Regions from separate parts of the Homo sapiens genome. Here all the other regions are linked to region 1. Evidence: promoter capture Hi-C in 16 types of primary human blood cells and fetal thymus (Javierre and others, 2016). All regions are on one chromosome and are shown on one strand. Each heading gives the region's core, a stretch centred on a gene start or on the middle of the fragment in contact. The rest is flanking DNA. Distances are from core to core; before and after follow the strand shown.

Evidence for each region. The method cuts DNA at HindIII sites, captures the fragments that hold promoters and counts their contacts. A CHiCAGO score of 5 or more calls a contact.
Region 2: a contact is called between the fragment with the promoter of TSR2 here and the fragment with the promoter of VCF2 in region 1, in 7 of 17 cell types (monocytes, naive CD8 T cells, fetal thymus and 4 more). The highest score is 8.0, in monocytes.
Region 3: a fragment that was not itself captured here is called in contact with the fragment with the promoter of VCF2 in region 1 in 1 of 17 cell types (monocytes); the score reaches 5.4 in monocytes.
Region 4: a contact is called between the fragment with the promoter of GNL3L here and the fragment with the promoter of VCF2 in region 1, in 12 of 17 cell types (monocytes, total B cells, activated CD4 T cells and 9 more). The highest score is 20.5, in monocytes.

What each region holds. Positions count from the first base shown.
Region 1 is chrX:55,157,295-55,164,113 of GRCh38, forward strand. It overlaps VCF2 (VCP nuclear cofactor family member 2), which reads right to left and starts at 3,891. Exons shown (of 3, transcript NM_001166701.4): 1 at 3,843-3,891; 2 at 1,835-1,934. The coding sequence starts at 3,862. RefSeq lists enhancers at 3,554-3,853, 3,679-4,179, 4,180-4,680. The HindIII fragment of the contact is 5,872 bases long and covers 1-5,588 here.
Region 2 is chrX:54,436,015-54,442,285 of GRCh38, forward strand. It overlaps TSR2 (TSR2 ribosome maturation factor), which reads left to right and starts at 4,390. Exons shown (of 5, transcript NM_058163.3): 1 at 4,390-4,488; 2 at 4,676-4,766. The coding sequence starts at 4,408. RefSeq lists an enhancer at 4,108-4,157. The HindIII fragment of the contact is 25,574 bases long and covers 1-5,878 here.
Region 3 is chrX:54,634,442-54,640,558 of GRCh38, forward strand. It overlaps a transcript of GNL3L not described here. Among named protein-coding and RNA genes, the nearest start is that of GNL3L, 110 kb to the left of the region's middle. RefSeq lists enhancers at 4,742-5,267, 4,834-4,963, 5,254-5,503. The HindIII fragment of the contact is 7,123 bases long and covers 1-6,117 here.
Region 4 is chrX:54,525,243-54,531,705 of GRCh38, forward strand. It overlaps GNL3L (G protein nucleolar 3 like), which reads left to right and starts at 4,977. Exons shown (of 16, transcript NM_001184819.2): 1 at 4,977-5,177. RefSeq lists enhancers at 4,378-4,898, 4,553-4,602, 5,053-5,112, 5,123-5,382. The HindIII fragment of the contact is 4,164 bases long and covers 3,701-6,463 here.

The sequences.
Region 1 (6,819 bases), core at 2,641-5,140:
GGCCGAGGCGGGCGGATCACTTGAGGCCAGGAGTTCGAGAACAGCCCGGCCAACATGGAAAAACCCCACCTCTACTAAAAATACGAAAACTAGCCGGCCATGGTGGTGCATGCCTGTAATCCCAGCTATTCCGGAGGCTGAAGCACCAGAATCGCTTGAACCCGGGAGGTGGGGGTGCAGTGAGCCGAGATCGTGCCACTGCACCTCCAGCCTGGGTGACCCAGTGAGACTGTCTCAAAAAAACAAAAATGCCCCAGTTGTCATCTGAATTGATATTACTTAAAATGATAACCTGACAAGGGGAGATTTCCTATCAGCTGAAAAATAACAGGATTCATAGACCTCTAATTTTAAATGTATTTGGGGCCTCCTAGTTCTGTTTTTCTCTCATTTGTCTTATTTCTGCTGCCCCCTTGGAATTGTAGCATTAGGGCACAAAATCTTTTCCTACTCTATACAGTAGGGAAGAGAAAAAGGCAGAGATCTGCTCCAGATAAGCCACTTGTGTGTATATCTACATAATATTCCACTCTTAATTTCTTGTACTACTCAGTAATCTGAAAGGTAAAATGAATGTTCCTGGCAAGTTAGACACACTTGTACAGAAATGTTCGGCTCTTTGTGTTTGTACTTTCTGTAAGTCTTATACCTATGTACTAGGGTTTTTACAGGGAAAGTGGTGGTATAATTTGTAAGATGTATGGTTGAAAGAAAATATTCCTATATGTGCAAACATATCCAACAAAAATCCCCCAGCACCTAAGAGAACAAATTATATAAGTTAAATCTAGTTATGTTTTACCCATCCAAGTAGCTGCCCACAATCTTGGATAATCATACCTGTGTATAGGTAGGTACCAAGAAGAGGACCTGGATTGATAATCTTTTCTCATCTTGCTCAAAAGAGGGCAAGGTGAGCCATACTTAGTTATTAACTAAGAGGATTAACTCAGAAAGACTTTATGAGGTTCCTTTAACACTCCACTAGTAATTATATCTCAATTAAAGCTATATTATGCTAATGAATACAAGTTATTAAAGTGAAGCACCTTGAAGTTAAAATTCAAGCTCCTTAGAATGGTGGTTACTAGAGGTTTAGAAGAGAGGAAGGGGGGATGAAAAGAAGTTGGCTAAGGGGTATAAAATACAGTTAGATAGAAGGAATAAGTTATAGAATTCAACAGTACAGTAGGAAAATTACAGTTAACAATAATTTATTGTATATTTCAAAATAGAAGAGAAGATTTATAAGTTCCCAACACAAAGAAAAGATGTATGTTTGAGGTGATGGGTAGCCCAATTACCCTGATTTGGTCATTACACATTATATACAGGTATCAAAATATCACATGTACCCCCAAAATATGTACAACTATTCTATATCAATAAAAAATTAAAAACTTCAAACTCTTTTTCCAGCACCATTAAAGTTTTGCAAAAATCATGAGACTGCCCCAAATTTTTCACTTTTTTTCACTGAGAAAGCAAGACTTGCCTTCCAGCTAATAACATATCACTATGTACTAGAAAATATGTTTTCCATATAAAAAGAAGGGAAGTAAGACTACTATTCCCTGCTCATATGAGGGGACAAAATTACAGGGGCTAATTCCTCCTGATTATGTTTAGCAAAGTTTTTCTGTGCTTCTTTTCCATTTTCTGTGAGATACTATATCATAATTTAAAGCTCCAGCTCAAAAGCCACTGTAATCAAGCAAGAAAACTTTTATGAAGGTTTCTTGGAATAATACATTTCTTTTCATTATGGAGCACAAATTGGATAATTTAGTGTAGGCAATGAATGAAATAGAGGCAATCTGACCATACTTGCTACCTCTGTATCTTGAGAATCCTGAAAGATAGGGTTTCTCTTATTCCTTTTGGGCTGGGTGGAATGATGGTTGCCCTCTTTACTGCCATTTCTTCTTCTTTTCCTGAAAATAAATTGTAAAGAGAGAGTTGTTACATGAAACAACTGATCTTTTGGATGCTTAAATTGTAAAGCCGTGACAACATACATATATGAGAACTTGTCTGAAAAAATGTCACTATCTGCTATCCCAAGATATAAAAGTCATATAAGTACTCCATTACCAGGCATGAAGATAAAAAAATGTAATACAAGAACTCTAAGTAAAGCCAAGCTGTGCATTTCATTTCTAGAAATAATTTTCATAACCTTAAATGATCCTTGAAAATAAAGAATATGAGGAATTTAATAGCTAAGTTTTCAAAATCTACCTAATTAGTTTCATTGTTTTGACTCCATGAAGTTACAATTCCAGGGTAAGTGATTTTTAACTCCTTCAATAAGATCGTAAGACATGTGTGTCTGCCAGTGTCTACTCTTAAGTTCTTATGCCAGTGGTGTAGCGACACTGAAGAGATATTTCTTGTATGCTGAATGTGGTTAGGCACTTACTGTTGCTATACCAGCTAATATTATGACATAGTTACTCCACTAGATTGTCACCATGAGATTGTGGCTGATTACTTCCTTGAAACATTCTTTTCTCAAAATTGTTTTCAATGATTGGTAAGATTACATCTTCAGTTTCAAGTTCCTTGTCAATAAGTAATCAGATTGCAGCGTTTGACATAGTTTTCACAGCACTCTATTATTAACCAGACATTTGCTTAGAGACTTACTTTTGAGTTTTTGGTACTCCTAAGAATGGCTGAGTTTACTCATTTTTATAATTTCATTACTCTTTAATCAATTCTCATCTCTAGGAGACTGAGTACTAGGAGACTCTAGGAGACTGAGTACTGAGTACAAAATGCCAAATAAAAAATCACGTAGAAAACTGCTCCTATATTACACTCCATTATGAAATGATTGATTATATATAAAGAAAAAATGACCGGGTGTAAATATTATTTTATTTCACAATGTTTATTGAGCATCCACTAAGTGCTAGGCACTCCTCCAGGTGCCAGGATAAAAGAGTGAAACAAACACATGCCACAGCTCTGCCTTCATTAGGGAGCATGGTGATGTTTGTCTTTGATCATGGTATTTTGAGTATTTGAGTATTTTGCGCTCAAGTTTTACTGAAACTTTCAACAGCTTACAATACGTTTGCATTGTTTTTAAAACAGAGTAATACTATGAAAATGATTTTTCAAAGTGTGAAGCTGAGTTTAAAAAGCGGAATGTTCATGAAACAATGTTAATCTCATTTTTTAAAATGCAACTTTACGAATGAAAAACATCTAAGGAAATTTATCACAGAATATGATTAATGGTCACGGCTGGGTGATCGGACTGTGGATAAGATTGGTTTCCTTTATTACGCTTTAACAGTCTAACCAAGTTTTCTACCATGAGATTCAGAGACGTTTGTAATGAAAGAATACATTGATAAAGGTCCATAGAACCCCAGTAACACGTGGAGAAAGATGACAAAACCAATCAGAGAAACAGAAATACCAGTTGCTAGGGTACCTAGCAGCCTCACCGAGGAAATGCCAATTTGAAAAACAGAATGCTATTGTCCACTGACTGAGTTTTCGCGAGGGACCACATCCCCACCTCACCCCCGCCTCCAGGGCTTGTAAGGCACTGACAACCAAAGAACCAGCATGTTCTTTCGGAGAAGGCTTCGCGGGATTTTTTTTCAAGCACGAAGGGCGGGGCACGAGGCAAGCAGGGCCGCGCCACCGGCCAACACTGTCACCTGCAGGTCATGAGAGCCGAGCGCCACCAACCCCGGAAGAAAATACATATCCGCTGCGTTTCCGCCCTGAGCCCCGAGATCTTGGCTGAGAAAGCAAAGCGTGATGACCGTGGGGACCAGAGCTCGGACTGGTACCGGCCGGAAAGGCCCCGACGAACTTACCGTACAGGGCAGCCTCCCATAGTCCTGCCCTCGGAACCATAGCAACCGCGCAGGAAGTTCCTGCGCCGCCGGAAAAACGCAGCCCGGAGGGCGGGGCTGGCCAAGGATTGACGGGCTCTGGGCCTGCGCATCGGAGCCCGGGGAGGTCGGCTCCTGTTTCCTCTGGGTCCGCCGCAGGCTCCCTTCCCTGCAGTTGGGAGCTGACGCCTGAGGGACGATCCGCTGAGGGTCAGGCTCTGCTGCGCGACTGCCCGAGCCGCCCCATGTTCGAGACCTGTGCCAATCCCATGGACATTCTCCTCCCACCCAGCCAGCCTCTGAACACGCTTCTCACGTGGCACACGCCCTGTCCTCGCAGCCCTCACACCGCTGATCCTCCTCGGCGACCTCAGCGCCCCCGGGGCTGACCAGGCCGTGGCCGGCGCCTCTCCGTCCTCGGGGGGGTCTCCTTCCCCCCACTTAAGTCTCTTCTGCCCGCGGTCATGCCCTGGGCCTCAGGAAAGACCGCGCCCCTCCACGATGTCCATTTCTTGCATCCCCCATTCTCATAACGGGCAGCACCCGATCGTGTCCTAACAGCTACCTCTTCCAGTGCCCCAGCATCCACAGCCTTTAGCCTCAAGGAGGCCTCCTCTCCACTAACCACAACCGCGTTCCTCACCATTCACCTTCCTTAGCCAGCTTACCCAAAGCTATTAACTCTCTCCTCCCTACTCTCCTGGCAGTCCCCCCGCCGCCAAGTAGACAAACAATGTACACCCTCCACAAGTGTACCTTCTCTGTCTAGTCTACTTACAAGATCCCTCCACAAGCACCAGCACCCAATTTTCTCATGATATTCACTGATATTCCCTTGAGAAAATAGAAGCAATCAGAGAAGAATTCACACCACTTCCCAACAGCAGTAGACCTGCACTTATAATCTTGGCTGCTTCCCTGGAGGAAGAGACAGGATCCTACTTGAGACCAGGCCCTTCACCTGGATCCTATGCCTTCCACCTTCTTAAGGGATCATCCTTTGCAGTTATGCTTTCTCCTGAATTATCATGTTCCTCTATCTGTATTTATTATCTAAAAAGTTGGCAAAGGGAGTGCTAGAGTTTAGGCTGATCCTGGTTCTTGCTGTTAAGTAGGTGATCTCACAGGGGGCTGCATTCCCTGAGGATGGAAGGGAAGATGTGGAAAGTGGCTGATTCAAGAACTAAAGATCATGCCATAAAGGAAGCCTAACCCAGCTAGGGGCTAGGTGACCCTGCAGCCGAGGCTGTGGAGTAGACAGCCCTGGACAGGGGACTTTTAGACTGCCATGTTTGTCGCTGCATTGTGCAATTTTAACAAGAATCCTGCTAAGTCAGTTTAGTTAGAATTTCCCATCATCAATATCTCAGTTAGGTTCCTCATCCCCCAGGTGATGTCTAGTCACCCTGGCCCACCTTCACCAACAATCCTGTTAGTTCAATTTAGCCACAATACCCCCTTACCCGTGGTGTTTCCTCTTAGTAATTTTCCGTCCATTGCTCCCCACCCTGCTCCTTGGCTATAAATTTCCACTTTTCGTTGTTGTATTTGGAGTGGAACCCAGTTTCTCTCCCTTCACTGCAAAACCCCATAGCAGTGGTCCCTACACCTATCTTGATGGTCCTGAATGAAGTCTGCCTTACCGTTCTTTAACAAATGCCATGAATAATTTTTTTTCCTTAACACCCTTCACTTGGATCCCATGCCCTTCCACATTCTCAAGGAACAAGCTTTTGTAATGATCATTCCTTTTACTTGAATCACCATGTTCTCCATGTCTATCGGATCATGCTATCGTCTACAAAGTGGGCAAATAGATGGTTAGAAATGAGGGATTTTGCTTTCAAGAGCTGATCTTGGTTATTGCTGTGTTGTAGGTGAGACCCCAAGGGGCTGCATTCTCTGAGGAAGGTGGAGGGGTTGGAGGGTATGGAAAGTGGCTGATTCAAGAGCCAGGGGTGCTACCATGGGGCAAGCTTAAGCCAGATAAGGACTAGGTTACCTTGCAGCTGAGGCTGTGGAGTGGACAACCCTGGCCAGGGGCTGAAGGGAGGATGAAGCCCAGATTCAGAGGGGTCTGCAGAAGCTAGCACACATGGGCTGAGGCTGAGTCAGCCAGGGAGTACCAGATTCTGACCAAGATGAGAGAGACAAAAATGCAAGTTACACCAGCCACAGACATACGTGAGCAAATCAGCATCACCAGCAGGATTTGGGAGATAAGTTAGCCTTCCTTCAGAAACCACTGAGGACACTGCAATCAACATGAGACTCCTAAGCAATGCAGACCATGTATTAGGCCATCTTGCATTGCTGTAAAGAAATACCTGGAGTCTGGGTAATTTATAAAGAAAAGAGGTTTGAATTAGCTCATGGTTCTGCAGGCTGTACAGAAAGCATGGCGCCGGATTTGTCAGAGGCGTTCGAACCAGAGCAATTCTATCTTGAAAAAATAGGAAAAATCTAGGAAAAAGGAGGCTGGGATTTGCTTGGCTGCATTCTCAGAAAATTAGGTATTTCTAGCCTCTAGATGTTTTTACTGAACAGACCCAGACTTAGGAGTGTCGTGATATCCCAATATCTTGAGAACAGAAGCATTCCTAATTTTGCTTTAAAGATCATAATATCAATTCTTGCAAGATATAGTAATTAAGAAAATTAATCCTTTATCACAAACCCTTGTAGCAGAGCACATCTCCCCATAATCTTTTTTATCCTGTATATAAACGAGTATTGTACCTAGGGTGGATGCATTCCTTTTCTTACTTTTGGGAATATCCTACTCTGTCTGTAGAGTAGCTGTACTTTCACCACTTTACTTTCTTAATAAATTTGCTTTTGCTTTGCACTGTGGACTCACCTTGAATTCTTTCTTGGGCGAGATCCAGGAACCCTCTCTTGGGATCTGGATCGGGACCCCTTTCTGGTAACAGCTTCTGGGGAGGCCTCAGGAAGCTTT
Region 2 (6,271 bases), core at 3,140-5,639, 720 kb before region 1:
GAAGAGTTCTATAAACTCTTTGATATCAAAAAATGTAGAAAAATTAGTAGAGAGGTGAGTCATGTAATTAATAAGAATATTTTATTTTGGCAGGGCGTGGTGGCTCATGCCTGTAATCCCAGCACTTTGGGATGCTGAGGCAGGCGGCTCACCTGAGGTCAGGAGTTTGAGACCAGCCTGGCCAACATGGTGAAACCTTGCATCTACAAAACAAAAACAAAACAACAAAGTAATATTTTATTTTTCTGGGTTAGAAGATGTTTGTGACATTTGTCAGTTTTTAAAAATTTGTAATTTGTAAATTAGATTTCTAATTTTAAGGAAATACTTTCATCAATAAATCAACAAATAAGTAAAGTGTACAATTCAATGGCTTTTAGTATAGTTTCTTCTGATTTGCTCCTTGGCTTTCTCCTTAGCTTTCTCACTGTGTGTTCACATAGTTGTCCCTGTGTGTACACCTCTCTGGTGTCCCTCTTTGCCTGTGTCCTCATCTCCTCTTATTATTATATTTTGTTGTTTTTTGTTTTTGAGACAGGGCTTGTTCTGTCACTCATGCTGGAGTGCAGTGGTACAATCATGGCTCACGGCAGCCTCAACCTCCTGGACTCAAGTGATCCTCCCTCCTCAGTCTCCTGAGTAGCTGGGACTACAGCCATCACACTCAGCTAATTAAAAAAAAAATTTTTTTGTAGAGATGGGGGGTCTTGCTTTGTTGCCCAGGATGGTCTCGAACTCCTGGCCTCAAGTGATCTGAGCCATTGCACCGAGTTCTAATCTCCCCTTCTTTATAAGGACATCAGTCATAACGGATTAGGGCCCACCCATGCAACCTCATTTTATCTTAATTACCTTTTTAAAGGCTCTATCTCCCAATACAGTCACATTCTGAGGTACTGGGGGTTAGGGTTTCTACATATGAATTTGGGGGGTGGTGGATACAATTTAGCTCATAACAGCAACCATTACCTCGTCTAATTTTTAGAACATTTTCGACACCCCCAAAAGTAGCCCTGAAGCCATTTAGAAGTCACACTCTATTCTTTCCCCATCCAAGCCCTGGGCAACCATTCATGTATTTTCTGTCTCTATAGATTTACCTATTCTGTATATTTCATATAAATGGTATCATACAATATGTGGTCTTTTTTGACTGGTCGGTAATTATACGTCCTCTTTCGTTCCTGATTTCAGTAATTTGAGTCTTCTTTCTTTTATTTCTTCCTCAGTCTAGCTAAGGGTTTGTAAATTTTGTTGATCTTTTCAAATAACTGACTTGGCCAGTTGCATTTGCTCACACCTGTAATCCCAGCATTTTGAGAGGCGAGGCAGGTGGATCGCTTGAAACCAGGAGTTCAAGACCAGCCTGGGCAACAAAGTGAGACACCCCCTCCCAACACACACACACACACACACACACACACACACACACACACACACAACCACACACACACACACACACACACACTAGCCAGGCATGGTGGCCTATTCCTGTAGTCCCAGCTAATCAGGAGGCAGAGGCAGGAGGATCCTTTGAGCCCAGGAGTTTGAGGCTGCAGTGAGCAATGTTTGTGCCACTGCATTCCAGCCTGGGCAACAAAAAAAGACTTCATCTCTGAAAAAAAAATAACCGCCCAGGTCCGGTGGCTCACGCCTGTAATCCAAACACTTGGGAAGGCTGAGGTGGGCAGCTCACTTGAGGTCAGGAGTTCAAGACCAGCCTGGCCAACATGGTGAAACCCTGTCTCTACTAAAAATACAAAAATTAACGGGGCATGGTGGCATATGCCTGTAATCCCAGCTACTCTGGAGGCTGAGGCAGGAGACTCCTTTGAACCTGGGAGGCAGAGGTTGTAGTGAGCTGAGATTGCACCACTGCACTTCAGCCTGGGTGACAGCACCAGACTCCATCTCAAAACAAACAAACAAACAAACAAAAAACAACAACTGACTTTTGGCTTCACTGTTTTTTCTTTTCTCTATTGTTTTTCAATTCTCTATTTCATTTATTTCTGTTCTATTATTTATTATTTCCTTTCTTATGCTTGCCTTGGGATTACTTTGCTCTTCTTTTTCTGGTTTTGTGAAGTGGAAGTGTAGGTTATTAATTTGATATCATTCTTTCATTTTTTATTTTTTTGAGACAGGGTCTTGCTCTGTCCCCCATGCTGGAGTGCAGTGGCACAATCACGGCTCACTGCAGCCTTGAGCTCCCAGGCTCAAGCAATCCTCCCACCTCAGCCTCCTGAGTGGCTGGTACTACACGCATATGCCACTATGCCCATCTAATTTTGTTTGTTCGTTTGTTTGTTTGAGACAGAGTCTCACTGTGTCGCCCAGGCTGGAGTGCAGTGGAGTGATCTCAGCTCACTGCAACCTCTGCCTACCGGGTTCAAGCGATTCTCGTGCTTCAGCCTCCCAAGTAGCTGGGATTACAGGTGTGTGTCACCATGCCTGGCTAACTTTTGCATTTTTAGTAGAGACAGGGTTTGTTCATATTGACCATGCTGGTCTCAAACTCCTGACCTCAGGTGATCTGCCCACCCAAAGTGCGGGAATTATAGGTGTGAGCCACCATGCCTGGCCTAGTTTTCAAATTTATTTATTTATTTAGTTTGAGACAGAGTCTCACTCTGTTTCCCAGGCTGGAGTGCAATGGCACCATCTCGGCTCACTGTAACCTCCGCCTCCCGGGTTCAAGCCATTCTCCTGCCTCAGCCTCCCAAGTAGCTGGGATTACAGGTGCTTGCCACCAGACCTGGCTAATTTTTGTATTTTTAGTAGAGACGGGGTTTCACCATCTTGGCCAGGCTGGTCTCGAACTCCTGACCTCAAGTGATCTGCCTGCCTTGGCCTCCCAAAGTGCTGTGATTACAAGCGTGAGCCACCACACCTGGCCTAATTTTTAAAATTGTTTTTAGAGATGGGGTCTCACTATGTTGCCCAGGCTGGTCTTGAACTCCTGAGCTCAAGCCATCCTCCCGCATCAACCTCCCAAAGTGCTATGATTACAGGCATGAGCCACCATGTCCGGCTCTTCTTTTTAGATATGCATGTTTACAGCTAAAGATTTCCCTCTAAGTTTTGCTTTAGCTGCATCTCATGCATTTTTTTATGTTTTTGTTTTCATTCATTTAAAAGTGTTTTCTAATTTGCTTTGTGATTTTTTTCTTTGACCCATTTATTGCTTAGGAGTGTGTTAATTTCCATATATTTGTGAATTTTGTAAGTTTCTTTTTACTGATTTTTAACTTCTTTCCATTGTGGTCAGACAACATACTTTGTATGTTCAATCCTGTTAAATCTATGGAGGCCTACTGTATGGCCTAGTGTATGATCTGTTCTGGAGAATGTTCTTGTGTACTTCAGAAAAACATGTACAGTTATCCCTGGGTATCCGTGGGAGACTGGTTCCACGACCTCCGGAGGATACCAAAATTCATAGATGCTCAAGTCCCTGATATAAAATGGCATAGTATTTGCGTATAACCTATGAATATTCTACTGTATACTTTAAATCATTTCCAGATGTGACTCACGCCTATAATCCCAGCAATTTGGGAGGCTGAGGCAAGTGGATTAAACCCAGGAGTTCGAGACCAGCCTGGGCAACATGGCGAAACCCTGTCTCTACTAAAAACACAAAAATTAGCTGGGAGTGGTGGTGGGCACCTGTAATCTCAGGTACTCGGGAGGCTGAGGCACGAGAATTGCTTGAAACCAGGAGACGGAGGTTGCAGTCAGCCGAGATGGCGCCACTGCACTCCAGCCTGGGCCACAGAGTGACACTCGGTCTCAAAAAAATAGATAAATAAATAATTTCCAGGTTACTTATAATGCCTAATAAAGTGTAAATGCTATGTATATAGCTGTTATACTGTACTGTTTAGGAGAATAATGTCAAGAAAAAAAGTATACACATGTTCAATGCAGATGCAATTTTTTCCTGAATATTTTCCATCTGAGGTTAGTTGAATTCACGGACGTGGACTGCCCCCCATAGGGAGAGCTGATTGTATTTTACTGTTGTTGGTTGCAGTATTCTATACAGATGTTAGGATGCTTTTTTTAAATGCAGATTTTTAAGGCTATACTCACTGAGTCCTCTGCCCCAGGGCCTGGAATCTGTATCTGTAATAAGTTCCCCACATATTTCCTCCGCAGTACCCACGGATCCGGAAACCATGGCCCCACACGTCCTTCAGGTCTGGTGTCCTTTGATTTAAGTGAGTAACTCTGGTGGTGTCATCGATCGCTCTGACAGATTTTTCTTTTGCTCTAGTCTTGCTGCCAGGTCTGCGGAAAAGAGAATCCTGTGTTCTCAGGCTCGGCTTGCGTCTCGTTCTGCCTGGGCCGAGCTACAGAGGGATTGGGCCGCCGGGACGTCACGTGGACTGGGGCCGGATAATGGCGGGCGCTGCAGAAGATGCGCGAGCTCTTTTCCGGGCTGGGGTCTGCGCGGCCCTGGAGGCCTGGCCGGCCTTGCAGGTCAGTGGGGCCAGGGCCAGGGCAAGGTCAAGGTTAGGGCCCGGGGCAGAACAGGAGTTGGTTGGGCTAGGTGCCTGAGGCTTGGCTAGGCGGCATAAGAGGAGTTGGCTGGGCGGCGTAAGCGGCCTCCAGGCTACTCCAGGTCTGCTCCCAAGCTGACTTGGTGGGCTTGGACCTGTGTTTACAGATCGCTGTGGAGAATGGCTTCGGGGGTGTGCACAGCCAGGAGAAGGCCAAGTGGCTGGGGGGTGCAGTGGAGGATTACTTCATGCGCAATGGTGAGTGAATGTGAGGCGCCGCGACCCGCCTGTGTGGGGGTGTGGAGAGGAGGAGCCCCATCCCGCAGAGCCTGCATTTCCTCTCGAGCAGTTGTGGATTGGTACCTAAAGGTGAGGTGGAATGAATTCAGCTTTTAGAATCAGAATCCTGGATTCCAGTGCTTTACGGGCTGTACCACTGACTCGTGGGATTACTCTGGACAAGGCAGTTTACCTCCCTGAGACTCAGTTTCCTAGTTTCTAAAATGCGTATAAAAGTATCCACCAGAGCGCTGTACAGTAGAAATATTATGCTAGTCACATATAATTTAAAATTTTTTAGTAGCCACTTTAATAAAGCAAAAAGCAGATGAAATCAATGTTAGTAAACTCGGTGTGTATGAAATATTTCAACATGTAGTCAGTATAAAACATTGAGATATTTTACATTTTTTAGTATTAAGTTTTCAAAATCTGGTATTTTACAGTTTTAGCACATTTCGATTTGGCCTAGCCATATTTCAAGTGCTCAGTAACCACCTGTGGCTGTTTGGACAGCAAAGATCTACACTGTAGGCTCGTCTTGAGGGATATACAAGAACAAGAGGCCCAGTAGAGGGCCTGTTGCATAGTATGGTTTTTAAAAAAATCTTCATTCAATTTCTAGCTTTGGAGATGACATTAGGCAGAGTCATCTCTCTCAAGAAAGTATACTATCCATTGAGGATCCACACACGTAAATAGTTACAACATTGATAGATTTTCTGATAAAGAGGAGCTCAGGGTGCATGGGGTAACAGGATGGGGAGACAGCTTCTTAGTGGAGGTGGTGAATTGGGCTGGGTCTTAGTGAGAAGGAGTTAACTAGGTGGGGGAAGCAGAGAGAGCAACACTCAAGTTCTGTGGCATGAGGGTATAATGTGTTATATTTGGAAAGTAGCAGGGAGCTCAGTATTGGAGTATGGGCGTGTGTGCGTGGGGGGTGGAGGAGTGGTAGAGAATGAAGCTGGGGTGTGGGAAGCCCCCTTGAAAAGCATAAGACATGGAAGCCCTTATGTGCCTTTGATTTTATCATTTAGGCCAGTGTTTGCCAAAATTCATGCTAACTAGTTCTGTTAGATGTTCAGTGAAGAAGCTTCTCCAGTTACCTTATGTAAGAAAAACTCTTGTTCTGCTCCCACTGAAAAGTCTTAACACTCATGAACATATTAAAGGCTTGGGTAAGAATAAGAACCACTAAAAAACCTGTTTGCTTTTGTTTCTCATTAGCTTTCTATGGATAGTGTCCCTTAAGACCCAGCAGAACAGATATTTCTCAAAGGCAAACTGTGAAACACTGCAGTGGCTGGTAAAAATTCGTGGGCAGGTTCTAGGGTGAGAAATAGGATGGGATTTGCTGGCTAGAAAGTTCAGGAAATAATCAGTATGAAGCATAACCTGGAGAGGGAAAGACTGATGAGAACGCTGTTTTTGTCTAGAAACTGATGAGGCCTGAAGTAGGACAGTGGCAACAGGCATGGAAAAGA
Region 3 (6,117 bases), core at 1,705-4,204, 520 kb before region 1:
CAGGCATGTGCCATCACGCCCGGCTAATTTGTATTTTTTTTTGTTTTTGTTTTTTTGAGACGGAGTCTTGCTCTGTCACCAGGCTGGAGCGCAGTGGCGTGATCTCGGCTCATTGCAACCTCCACCTCCTGGGTTCAAGCGAGTCTCCTGCCTCAGCCTCCCAAGTAGCTGGGAGTACAGGTGCATGCCACCAAGCCTGGCTAATTTTTTTTTTTTTTTGTATTTTTAGTAGACACGGGGTTTCACCATGTTACCCAGGATGACCTCGATCTCCTGACCTTGTGATCTGCCTGCCTTAGCCTCCCAAAGTGCTGGGATTACAGGTGTGAACCACTGCGCCCGGCTCTTTTTTTTTTTTTTTTTTTTGAGATGGAGTCTCGCTCTGTCACGCAGGCTGGAGTGCAGTGGCATGATCTCGGCTCACTACAACCTCTGCCTCCTGGGGGTTCAAGCGATTCTCCTGCCTCAGCCTCCTGAGTAGCTGGGATTACAGGTGCCCGCCACCATGCCAAGCTAATTTTTGTATTTTTAGTAGAGACAGGGTTTTGCCGTGTTGGCCAGGCTGGTCTTGAACTCCTGACATCAAGTGATCCACCCATCTCGGCCTCCCAAAGTGCTGGGATTACAAGCATGAGCCACTGTGCCTGGCCAATTCTTTCTTTTCTCCTCAGACTTGATAATTTCGATTATCCTATCCTTAAGTTCACTGATTCTTTATTGTGCCATCTTAGATCTGCTGTTCAATACCTCTAGTCAATTTTTCATTTCAATCATTGTACTTTTCAGCTCCAAAATTTCTGTTTGGTTCCTTTTTATGCTCTGTCTTTTAAATTGATATTCTAATTTTGCTCATACGTCATATTCCTAATTTCCTTTAGTTATTTGTTCATGTTTTCCTTTAGTTCTGTGAGCATATTTAAGTCAATTGTTTTAAAGTGTTTGTCTATTAAATTTGATGTCTGGACTTCCTCAGGAATAGTTTCTGTCAATTTAGTTTGTTTCTGTAAATGGGCCATAATTTCCTATTTCTTTGTATGTTTTGTGATATTTTTTGTTGAAAGCTATATGTTTGAATATCATAAAATGTTAAGGGGGTACATTAAATTCTCCTTTTTCCTCTGAGTTCGCTGTTTATTTAATTTATGTGAAGGCTATAGTAGTCCATTTGTTTAGTGACTTTCCCAAAGTACTTTTAGGAAGACCGTTTTTTTGTGTGTGTAGTCATTGATATTTCTGTTTTTCAGTTTGTGCTCAGCTAGTGTTTTGATAGGATTTCCTTGAATGTCAGGAACTAAAAAAAAAAAAAAAATCAATCAAACAAACAAAAATTACCTCCCCCACCTCATCCTTGCAGAATCATTTTGTTCTAGGGCATTTTTTTTCAACACCTAACTAGGCTTGCACTAAGCATAGGACTCAGCCAGTGGTGAAACATTAGAGTTTTCACATGTTGTTTTTCTGAGGATGTGTCTTGTGTGGAGCATGCACATGGCTTTCTAAATCTCCCCATATATGTGGCTTCTTTTGAATGTCCGAATTTCTCAAATAAACTCTCCCCAGCTCTTGCTCTCAGTCCTTAGGTGGTCTGTTTTGTTTTGATCATAATCTTTTCCCCTGAGATCTGCATATTGCTCATTTTTTCTTGCATTGATTTTGAGCTTGCCATTTTATAGCCTCAGTTCTGAGTGAAGTGAAACACAGATGAATACTTTATGTCAGTCTTTTAGCCCCAAGGCAGGTTAGAACATACATACACAACAATATGCAAATAAGGTCTGCTCTGTTTCCTCCAGGATCAGGAACAAGTTTCCCGCAGGAGAATGTGGACTTTCCTATTCAAGACCATGACTGCACTGGAGAGGAGGTGGGGCAAGAGCAAGTAAATATGCCATAAAACTTTCTTACCATTTTGAAGTTGCCTTTATCTTTCTTTTTTTCAACTTTTATTTTAGGTTCAGAGAGTACATATGCAAATTTGTTACATGGGTAAGTTGCATGTCACTGAAGTTTGGTGTACAAATGATCCCATCACCCAGGTAGTGAGCATAGTATACAATAGGTAGTTTTTCAACCCTGGCCCCCTCCCCCTCCCACCTCTAGTAGTCCCCAGTGTCTATTGTTCCCATTTTTATGTCCATGTGTACTCAATGTTTAGCTCCCACTTATAAGTGAGATGTGGTATTTGGTTCCCTGTTCCTGTGTTAATTTGCTTAGGATGATGACCTCAAGCTGCATTCATATTGCTGCAAAAGACATGATTTCATTCTTTTTTATGGCTGCACAGTATTCCACAGTATATATGTATCACATTTTCTTTATCCAATCCACTGTTGATGGGCATCTAGGTTGATTCTGTATCTTTGCTATTGTGAATAGCACTGTGATGAACATACACATGCATGTGTCTTTTTAGTAGAATGGTTTATTTTCCTTTGGGTATATGAGACTTCCAGTAATGGGATTGCTCAGTCAAATGGTAGCTCTGTTTTAAGTTCTTTGAGAAATCACACTGCTTTCCACAGTGGCTGAACTAATTTACATTTCCACCATAAGTGTATAAGTGTTCCCTTTTCTCTGCAACCTCACTGGCATCTGTTATTGCCTTTTTCTTTATTCAGCATTTGCTTGGTTGCTATAAACTTTTCATTGTTTTCCAGAGTTTTGAGAAAGTTGGTTCTGTCAGTTTCTGCTTGATTATCAGTTTCTGTAGGGGAACAAGAGCTTGGAGCTGCCTACTTCACCATTTTGCCAATGTACTACTGCCTCCATCATTTTCTACTGCCTTATCTTCCTTCTTTATTTTTTTCATTGTACATATTATGACCCCGAAATTAAATTCCAAATGTATTTCTTGACTTGGTAATTGTCTGTTTCTCTCAGTAGAATGTTGGCTCCAGGAGTACAGGGACTGCATCTGTCTTATTTACCCTTGTGTACCGCTAGAAGTGTCAGGCTGTGTGTGTGTATACACACATATATATTTTGCAGTTTGTATGTATACACACATATACACACATGTGTGCACACATGTGCATGCACACACACACACATATATATCTCACTATCTACTTTTGAATGAATGTTATGCCAGTAGTTCCCAATACTGGTCTGTCATCTTGTGCAAGGGCCTGATATAGTTTTTGCCAATCTGCAGTAAAATGAAGATAAAAAGGACACTGTAGTGTATATTTGATTTAAAGGCCTCTGCTTTATCTTATTTACTTGCTAATTTGTGCAAAACTGCAAAAGATATGTATAAATCAGGGAAATGTAAATACTTGGATATTTTATAATATTAGGAAATTATTCTTAAATTTTTAGATATTCTGTGGTATTATGGTTATTATTATAAAAGAGTTCTTATATTTTAAACACATGAACTCAAATATTTATGGAGAAAATGGCGTCTAGCATTTGCTTCAAAGTAATCTGGGATACGATGTGTGTTGGGGTTTGAGATGTAAGATGCTTGGCCAGGAGGTGATAATTGAGAAGCTGGGTGAGAGGTACTTGGGGGTTCATTTACTCTTCTTTCTACTTTTGCATATGTTAAAAATTTTCATATTAAAGATAAATTAAAAAGTTCGTTCCTTTAATGGGGGATTATGTGTAATTGTCTTTTCTTAAAATGATGGTGATAGAAGGCAGTAGTTTGTTTTTAGTGTCCTTCTTCCGCAATATTTTATCCATCCTTTGCAATTTTTTGAAATATTGTTTGGGCTGTGAAGTCCTAAACTCTTGGGACTGTGAACTTGTGGGACTGGATCTGATCACATGAGGCCACAAACATTTACTGACAAGATCCTGGGTGCCAGACCCTGTTCTGGACTAAAAATATACAGCGAATTAGACACAGTCCACATTCCTGAGAATTGCTGTAGAAAATGAGGTAAGAAATGTAAAATCCTTCACACAGTGCCTGATACAGTGTAAGTGCTCAATAAACATTAAGTATCATCATCACCACCCTCACTACTATCATCATCACCTTCGATATCTTTCCATGTCAGTTTATATATAGCTCATTAAATTAATTAATTAATTAATTGAGATAGTCTGGCTCTGTTGCCCAGGCTGGAGTGCAGTGGCGCAATCTCCGGCCCACTGCAACCTCCGCCTCCCGGGTTCAAGCGTTTCTCCTGCTTCAGCCTTCTGAGTAGCTGGGATTACAGGCGCCTGGCTAATTTTTGTATTTTTAGTAGAGACGGGGTTTCACCATGCTGGTCTCGAACTTCTGACCTCAGGTGATCCACCCACCTCGGCCTCTCAAAGTATTGGCATTACAGCCGTCAGCCACCATGCCCGGCCTATATATAGCCCATTTTAAACTGATAAGTTTATCAACCATCTCCTGCCCCCACTGATACTTTCAATTTTTCGTTATTGCCAACAAATCAGCACGGCTTACACTTGTTCATAAGGCTCCTTGCAGTTTTTTGTCCTCTAGATCTAAGGTTCTTAAAGTGTGGTCTTGAACCAGTTTGCCCCAGCATTACCCTGGAAGTTGTTAGAAACACAAGTTCCTAATCTCTGATAGTAGATGGGCCACAACAATCTGTGTTTTAACAAAGCCCTGTAGGTGATCCGCATACACTTCTCTAGGAGTCTTGGATGTATATATATGGAAATGGGATTGCTGAGCCAATAGGATATATACCTTTAAAATAATGTTTTTTAAAATAAAATAGAGAGGGAGGGTCTCACTGTGTTGCCCATGCTGGTCTCAAACTCATGGACTCAAGTGATCCACCCACCTTGGCCTCCCAAAGTGCTGGGATTACAGGCGTTACATTAAAAAAAATTTAATAGTCAAAGAGCTCTCCAAATCAGGCACGAACTTTTACTTATATATTAAGGTCTTACTTTGAATAGGGTTACTAAGCCTGCTGAAATAACCCCTTTTCTTCCGGTACCCACTTTCATCCGACGTGCCCCGCCCGCCCGACTCGATTGCATCAGCCTCCTGTCAGCCCCGCCCCAGTGTACTTGCACTCGCAAGCGCAGCTGGGTTATCTTGGGACTAGACGCTCACGGGGCGGGGCTTCGATTCTCACTCTTGGAGCGGGGAGGCCAAAAGAGTCGGAAAGGGGCGTTATCTCTTTCGGAAGTGAGTGGGACAATGGCGAGCAAGCGGTCGTGAGCCTTGAGCTTTGCAGCTTTTCTTGGCTCCCATTTCCTCCTAAAGCCACGAGTTTACCAGCGTCTCTTACAAGTAGTGTGTCGCCACTTTAAAAAAAACATCAGGAAAGGAAAAGGGAGAACCCCGGAGCCCGAAGCTACGCCCGCCTGCGGCAGGGGTGCGCCAATTGTCCAGTGGTGAGGGCGCATGCGAACCATTGACAATGACGTAATCTTGCAGCTCACAGCCGGAGTGAGGCTTTCGGGGAGGGAGGAGCTCCGGTGAGAGTAACAGGGTCGGATTTGTCTGGGCCAGGCCCAGGCTGAGACGCCTACTAGGGGATGGAGGGCCCCAGAAGGAGGGAGAGGGAGGAGTCTTGGACTCTCTCGGAGAACGAGGCTGGGGCTGGCCACCGAGAGTGGAAGCCGCTGTCCAGAGGTTAGAGCCACCCAAGAGCTGGTAGTCGAGTGGCCGCCAGGGGGTGACCGTGCCTGCGTACGTCCACAAGTGGGCCCATAAAGACTGGCCCATATATTTTTGAAACTGTTTATTTTTGTATCTGTTTCCTCTTCTGCCCTGACATCCCAGAGAAAGAGTTGTGGGTGATTGACCTTTGAATCACCAGCACCTCGGGGAGGGCCTGGTACAAAGAAGACACATTTTTAAGGCGGTTGATTGACGGAAGGAAAAGACTGAAAAAACGAAAACAACAAGCCAAAAACCCCAAACCCAGAGATACCCATACATGACATAAAGTTAAGGCCTTTTTAAAAAGTAATAATAGAGGAGAAATTTTAAATGTCCATCAGCAGAGCTTGAGGCCATGCAGTTTTTAGGTTGTTGCAGTCAGAGTGTACACACAACCCTGCATCCTTAGTTATGGCATAATAATTTTTCTCTGTTGCTATAGAATCTCCACAGCCGTCATCTCTCAGCAATGGTTGTAGAATGTTCCATTAGACAGCTGTGCCACAATTCACTTAACCCTTCTCTTGTTG
Region 4 (6,463 bases), core at 3,727-6,226, 630 kb before region 1:
CCTGTAATTCCAGCTACTCGGGAGGCTGAGGCAGGAACCCAGGGGGCAGAGTTTGCAGTAAGCCCAGATAGCGCTACTGCACTCCAGCCTGGGCAACAGAGTGAGACACCATCTCAAAAAAAAAAAAAAAAAAAAAAAAAGAAGCAATAGATTAGATGTACACACAGCAATATGGATAGACCTTAAAAACACTAGGCTGAATGGAAAACAGAATGACTTTTTTTTTTTTTTTTTTTTAAGACAGAGTCTTACTCCATCACCCAGGCTGGAGTGCAGTGGTGTGATCTCAGCTCACTGCAACCTCTGCCTCCCAGGTTCAAGCGATTCTCGTGCCTCAGCCTCCCCAGTAGCTGGGATTAGAGGTGTGCGCCACCACACCTGGCTAATTTTTGCATTTTTAGTAGAGACAGGGTTTCGCCATGTTGGCCAGGCTGGTCTTGAACTCCTGGCCTCAAGCAATCCGCCTGCTTCGGCCTCCCAAAGTGCTGGGATTACAGGCATGAGCCACCGCACCTGGCCAGAATGAGATATTTATGTAAAAGAAAAACAAGTACAAAGTATGCTCAATAGTGAGACAATCTGATATCATGTGCCTCTTGAGGTGACACAATACAAAATAAAGGATATCCCCTATGTACTGTTCTTGCTAAAAATATTTATTCTGAATCTATTCATGTGAAAAGAACAAATGAATCCAGAATATGGGACATATTACAAGACAATTGGCCTGGACTCTTCAAAAACATAAATGTCATTTGAAACAAAAAATATAGGGGTATTATTCTAGATTAAAAGAGGTTAAAGGGATATAACAACCAAATGTAATACACAAACGTCAGGTGTGGTGGCTCATGACTGTAATCCCTGCACTTTGGGAGGCCAAGGTGGATGGATCACTCCAATGTGCAGAAACGCTGTCTCTACTTAAAATACAAAAATTAGACAGGCATGGTGGCGGGCGCCTGTAGTCCCAGCTACTTGGGAGGTGGAGGCAGGAGAATTACTTGAACCCAGGAGGTAGAGGTTGCAGTGAGCCAAGATTGCGCCACTGCACTCGAGCCTGGGCAACAGAGCAAGACTTCGTCTCAAAAAAAAAAAAAAAAAAAAAAAAAAAAAGAAACGTAGTACATAAACCTTGATTAGATCCTGGGATCAAAAAACGAAAGCTGCATTTTTGGGGATAATTGGGCGGAAATGTGAATATGGGCTATACGTGATGGCATTATTGAATTATAGTTAAATCTTCTTAGGTTTGATAATGGTATTGTGGTTATGTAGGATGATATTTGGTGAAGTATAAGGGTATATGGGCTTTCATTATACCATTCTTTCGACTGTTCTGAATTTGGAAACAATATAAAATAAAAATTTGGCCGGGTGCAGTCACCCACAATCCCATCACTTTAGGAGGCCGAGGCAAGCAGATTGCTGGAGCCCCGAGTTTGAGACCAGTAAAAAAATCTTTTTTTTTTTTTTTTGAGAGAAGTCTCGTGCTTGTCCCCCAGGTTTGAGTGCAATGGCTTGATCTTGGCTCACTGCAACCTCCGCCTCCCGGGTTCAAACGATTCTCCTGCCTCTGCCTCCCAAGTAGCTGGGATTAAGGCGCCTGCCACCACACCCAGCTAATTTTTTGTATTTTTCTTTTTGGTAGAGACAGGGTTTCACCATGTTGGCCAGGCTGGTCTCGAACTCCTGACCTCAGGTGATCCGCCTGCCTTGGCCTCCCAAAGTGCTGGGATTACAGGTGTGAGCCACAGTGCCCAGCCGAGACCAGTAAAAACATCTTTAAAAATTAGCTGGGCATGGTGATGTGCGCCTGTAGTTCCCCAGCTACTCGGGAGGGTGAGGTGGGAGGATCCCTTGAGCCCAGGAGGTGGAGGTTGCAGTGAGTGGAGGTCATGCCACTGCACTCCAGTCTGGGCGATAGAGCAAGACCCTGGCTCAAAAAAAAAAAAAAAAAAAAAGGAGGAAATACACATAAAGCAATAATACGTATTTTCCAAGAATGCATATATGCAAAAATATGCATAAAACACCTTTGAATGGCTGCCTATAGGAGGGAAATGAAAGTGGGAAGTAGAGATGAAAGAGATTTTAAAAAATAACACAATCTCTCACTAAAGTAATAAATATTCATCAAATACATGGAAAACACAGAAAAGTACAAGGAAGAAAATTAAATTCACTGATAATGTCACTTTGATTTGTTAGAAATGCAAATCCTGGGCCCTAAACCAGACTTACTGAATCAAAACTCTGGGCATGAGGCCCAGTAATTGGTGTTCTAACAAGCCCTCCCAGTGATTCTGATGCTGGGGAAAGTTAGAGAACCACTAATCTAGATTTAACTATTATTAACATTTTGTTTCAGATCCTTGTAGTCTTTTAAAAAATATGAAATATTTCGGACATACAAATAAGTATAGAGAAGATAACAAAAACCCACGTACCTACCACCTAGCTTAGAAAGTAAAATATTAGACAAACAGTTGAAGTTCCCTGTGTATCTCTCTCTCATTCTGTTCTTTTGTTTTCTTCCCCAGAGGTAATCAGTATTCTGGATTTGGTATTTCTCCTTAAAAATTATTGTTGGCTGGGGGCGGTGGCTCACACCTGGAATCCCAGCACCTTGGGAGGCCAAGATGTGGTTGGATCACTTGAGCTCAGGAACTCAAGATTAGCCTGGGCAACATGGTGAAACCCTGTCTCTACAAAAAATACAAAAATTAGCCAGGTGTGGTGGTACATGCCTGTAGTCCAGGTACTTGGGAGGCTGAGGTGGGAGGATGGCTTGAGTCAGGGAGGTGGAGGCTGCAGGGAGAGGAAATCAAGCCACTGCACTGCAGCCTGGACGACAGAGCAACATCTTGTCTGAAAAAAAAATTATTGTTTATATATCTATATAATCTATAAGCAACATTGTTTGCTGTTTTCTAGATTTTAAAACTTTATATAAATGGTTTCATACTTTATGTGTCCTCTGCAATTTGTATTTTATCTCAGTATTGTGTTTTTGAAATTTAGCTGGGTCAATGCATGCAACATGATTCATTCTTTTTCATTATAGTATTCTGCATAGTATTCTGTCATATGGCTATACCATAATTTACTTATTCATTCTCCTGTTGGTGGAATTTTGGGCTGTTCACATTTTTTTCTCTATTACAAACAGTTCTGCAATGAACATTCTTCCACATGCTCATTGAGCAAGTGTATAAGAATTTCTCTAGGAGTTAAAGTTTAGAGGTGATCTCTATCTATCTATCTACCTATTAATCAATCATCTCCAATACTAGAACTGCTGGGTCCCAGGGTCATCTTCAGCTATTCTGGATACTTCCTAATTGTTTTCCAAAGTCGTAATAACTAGTTTCCACAAGATTTCATTGTATTTTTTCCCTTATATCTTGTGCATTTGGGATTTTGTTTAAAAAGTCCTTCCCCAGTCACAAGTCACAAAGATATTCTCCTGCATATATTAACTTCATAGTTTTACCTTTCACATTCACAGTCTACCCTCTTAGGTGGAATAAATAGAGATCCAGTTTTATATTTCTTTTCATGGAGAGCCAAATTTCCCAATGCCATCTACTAAACAGCCCATTTCCCATTTTTTGTGGTGCAGGCCTGTAAACTCACCCATTTAACAAACAGTTGTTGAAGCCTGCCTCATACCAGTCTTGTGCTGGGTGTTGTTGAAAGCTTGAAGATACATGGCCCCTGCTCTCAGGGAGTTCACCCTCCTGTGGAGACACAGTCACATAAACAACTACAGTATTGTGATAAGTGCTAGCTTAGCTGTATAGGTAAGGTGCTCTGGGTTTCTAACTCATCTGCGAAAGTCAGAGAAGGTTTCATCGAAGTGACAAGAGTTAGGTCTTAGAGAAACAGAGCAAAATTGCAAATGCAGGGGGAAAGGTGAAAGTGGTCAGGGCTGGTTTCAGGTCCAGAGGAATTTCATGTGTCTCTAGGATGAGAGGTTAGAAGCCCTCCAACGATGTAGAGAGGTAGTGAGTCCTGTTTATGTAAGGGATAAAGGGACAGATGGAGTCATTTTCAGCCCGTCTGTGCTTGAAGTGGAGAAACAAACCCACCCTCGGAGGCACAGAGTTCCACCTACTCTGTGCCCCACCCCAGGGTTTAGGCTTGAGGAAGAGGAGGGGCTGGAATTAAACCATCAAGAAGAAAACATTTGCAGACTAATATTTACTATTTTGTGGGGGAGACCTCACTTCCCAGCCAGCTCCTTGAGATGGCTTCAGAAACCCCTACTTGCCCCACTCCAGAGATATAAATTCATTCCCTTCTGCAGACGCTGCTCCGGGATTGAGGGAAGGATGGAGTAGGAGGGGAAGAAGGCAAAAGGGTGGGAGAGGCTTCTAGTGTGGGAGAGGCTTCTAGTCGTTCTGGCTCCTGCTCCAGCTCGGGTTGGGTATGGCCATAGATCTGAACGTATGCAGAAAAAGCTAGGAGTGCTCAGGGATGGTCTGGGGCTCAAGGACCCGGGAAGGTGGTTGGGAATAGCTAACCAATTCACTTCAGGTGGGGAAATACTCGGCCAGACACGTGACCCAGGCGGCCATTTTCTCACACCCTGCTGTCGCCATCTTCCAGGCAGACAAAGACACCATCCCCCACCCTTGTCTGATTCGGGCGTGGTGACTGCCTGGTTATTGAGATTTGGGAGCACGCATATTTAACCCCAGACAGATGCCCGCAGACAAAATTTTGGCTTGCAAGTAAGGTATATGGCCGCACCAGTCGACCCGCCGCTTCTTCCCGGTCATTTCCCCGTCCTCCTTCTCCCTCCTCCGCTATTTCCTTAACTACGGGGCAGGCAGGAGGCGGGGCCAGCGTGGTCGCGAAGAAGGGACGGGCGGGCGTGAGCTGTCAGTCAGAAGCTCCGCCCCCCCCCCCCCCCCCCCGCGGAGACCGCACGGTGGGCGGAGTCGGGCGCCGCCGGCCTGGGATCCGGAAGTCGGAGCCTAGCTGCGCGAGAGTTTCTGCTCGCTCAACCGAGTTGTCGTGTTGCCCTCGCTTCTCAGATCCCCGCCGGAAGTGTAAGTAAGAAACTTCTCTCCTCTTTTCTCACAATGTGCGCTCACCTAGACGGCCGGGCAGTTAGGATCGTCTATTGGATGTGAAACCAGAGATGCCCGCCAACCTGGAATAGAGAGGTAAACAGCAGGATCCCTTCCAGGGTAGAAGGGACCGGAAGAGGGGCAGGGATCGCGGCACACGTGGAGACGCGCCGAATTGCCTTTTCGCGGAGTGGAGTTTGCCGGGAGAGGGGCATTGCCCCATCCCACCTAGAAAGGTGTAGACCCGGGACACACTGTGTAGAGAGGCACAAACTTCACTTGTGTGGTGAAGCGTTGATCGTCCTCAAGATAGTGAGGCTTCATTCTGCATTCACCTTGTATAGACAGGAGTCGACCCACCAAAGGCATGGGGGACATCCACCCCAACCGTGTAGAGACATCTCCCTCCACCCAGCTGAGCAGCGCAGACTTCTCCCGACTTAAGGCACTTCCTTGGCTTGGCTCTAGACAGCCGTCTCGAGGCACCTCCTCAGGACAGACAGAGGCTTTGATGTATCTGCCCCCATACCAGCATAGAGGAGCTTAGAAACATTTAATATACAGAGGGAGGGCACCTCCTCCCCATACGCGTAGACTCAGAGCCCTCAGTATCGCTCCCCAACTCACCCGTCCCCAAAGTGGTTGCAGTTACAGGCCTCAGCTTATGGACAACTAAGCCAATTGCCCCCTCCTCTTAGGTTAGAGTGAGTCCCCATTGTGGAGAATCAGACCTGATCCCTACTTCCGTAGCCCCCGTTTTACCGAATGTGTAATTTTTCGAAGCACCCAACATGCTTCGAAGCAAACAGGAACAGACCTTAATCCATGAAGAGACAGTCAGGTCTGCCCCTTGAGGGGCCGTGGGGGTAGAGGGGCTCAGATGTGTTCCTCTCCCTTTGAGGTAGACACAGATCATCCCCCTACCTCCCCCTACCTCCCCCAAAGATTTAGAATCACTAAATGTAGCAAGGGAGATACCCCACAGGAGCAGATATGCAGGTCTCCCTCCCTGTAATGTTGAGAGGGAGTGACATCGCTGATTACCTGGCAGTTCAGTGCGTATGGTCTCTCCCCTTTACCCAAGGTAGTGGAGCTCAGATCTGTTTCTCTCCACCCAGGGTAGAATCACAGACGCCCCCACCCCCAAGTATTAGGGCTGATCTATTAATTTATAGCTGCATTGCCAGCCCCCTCCACACACCACCCATGCAGAGAACCAGAGCCCCTATTTCTTTCAGTGTTAGTGTGCCGCTGACTTCAACCAGCATAAAAGATGAAAGTTGTCACAGTCCACCTTCCATAGAAGGGTCCAGAATAGCTCACTGCAGGTAAGGTGCAGACCCGCTTATTCAAAGCTGCATAGTTGTGGAATCAGGCATATC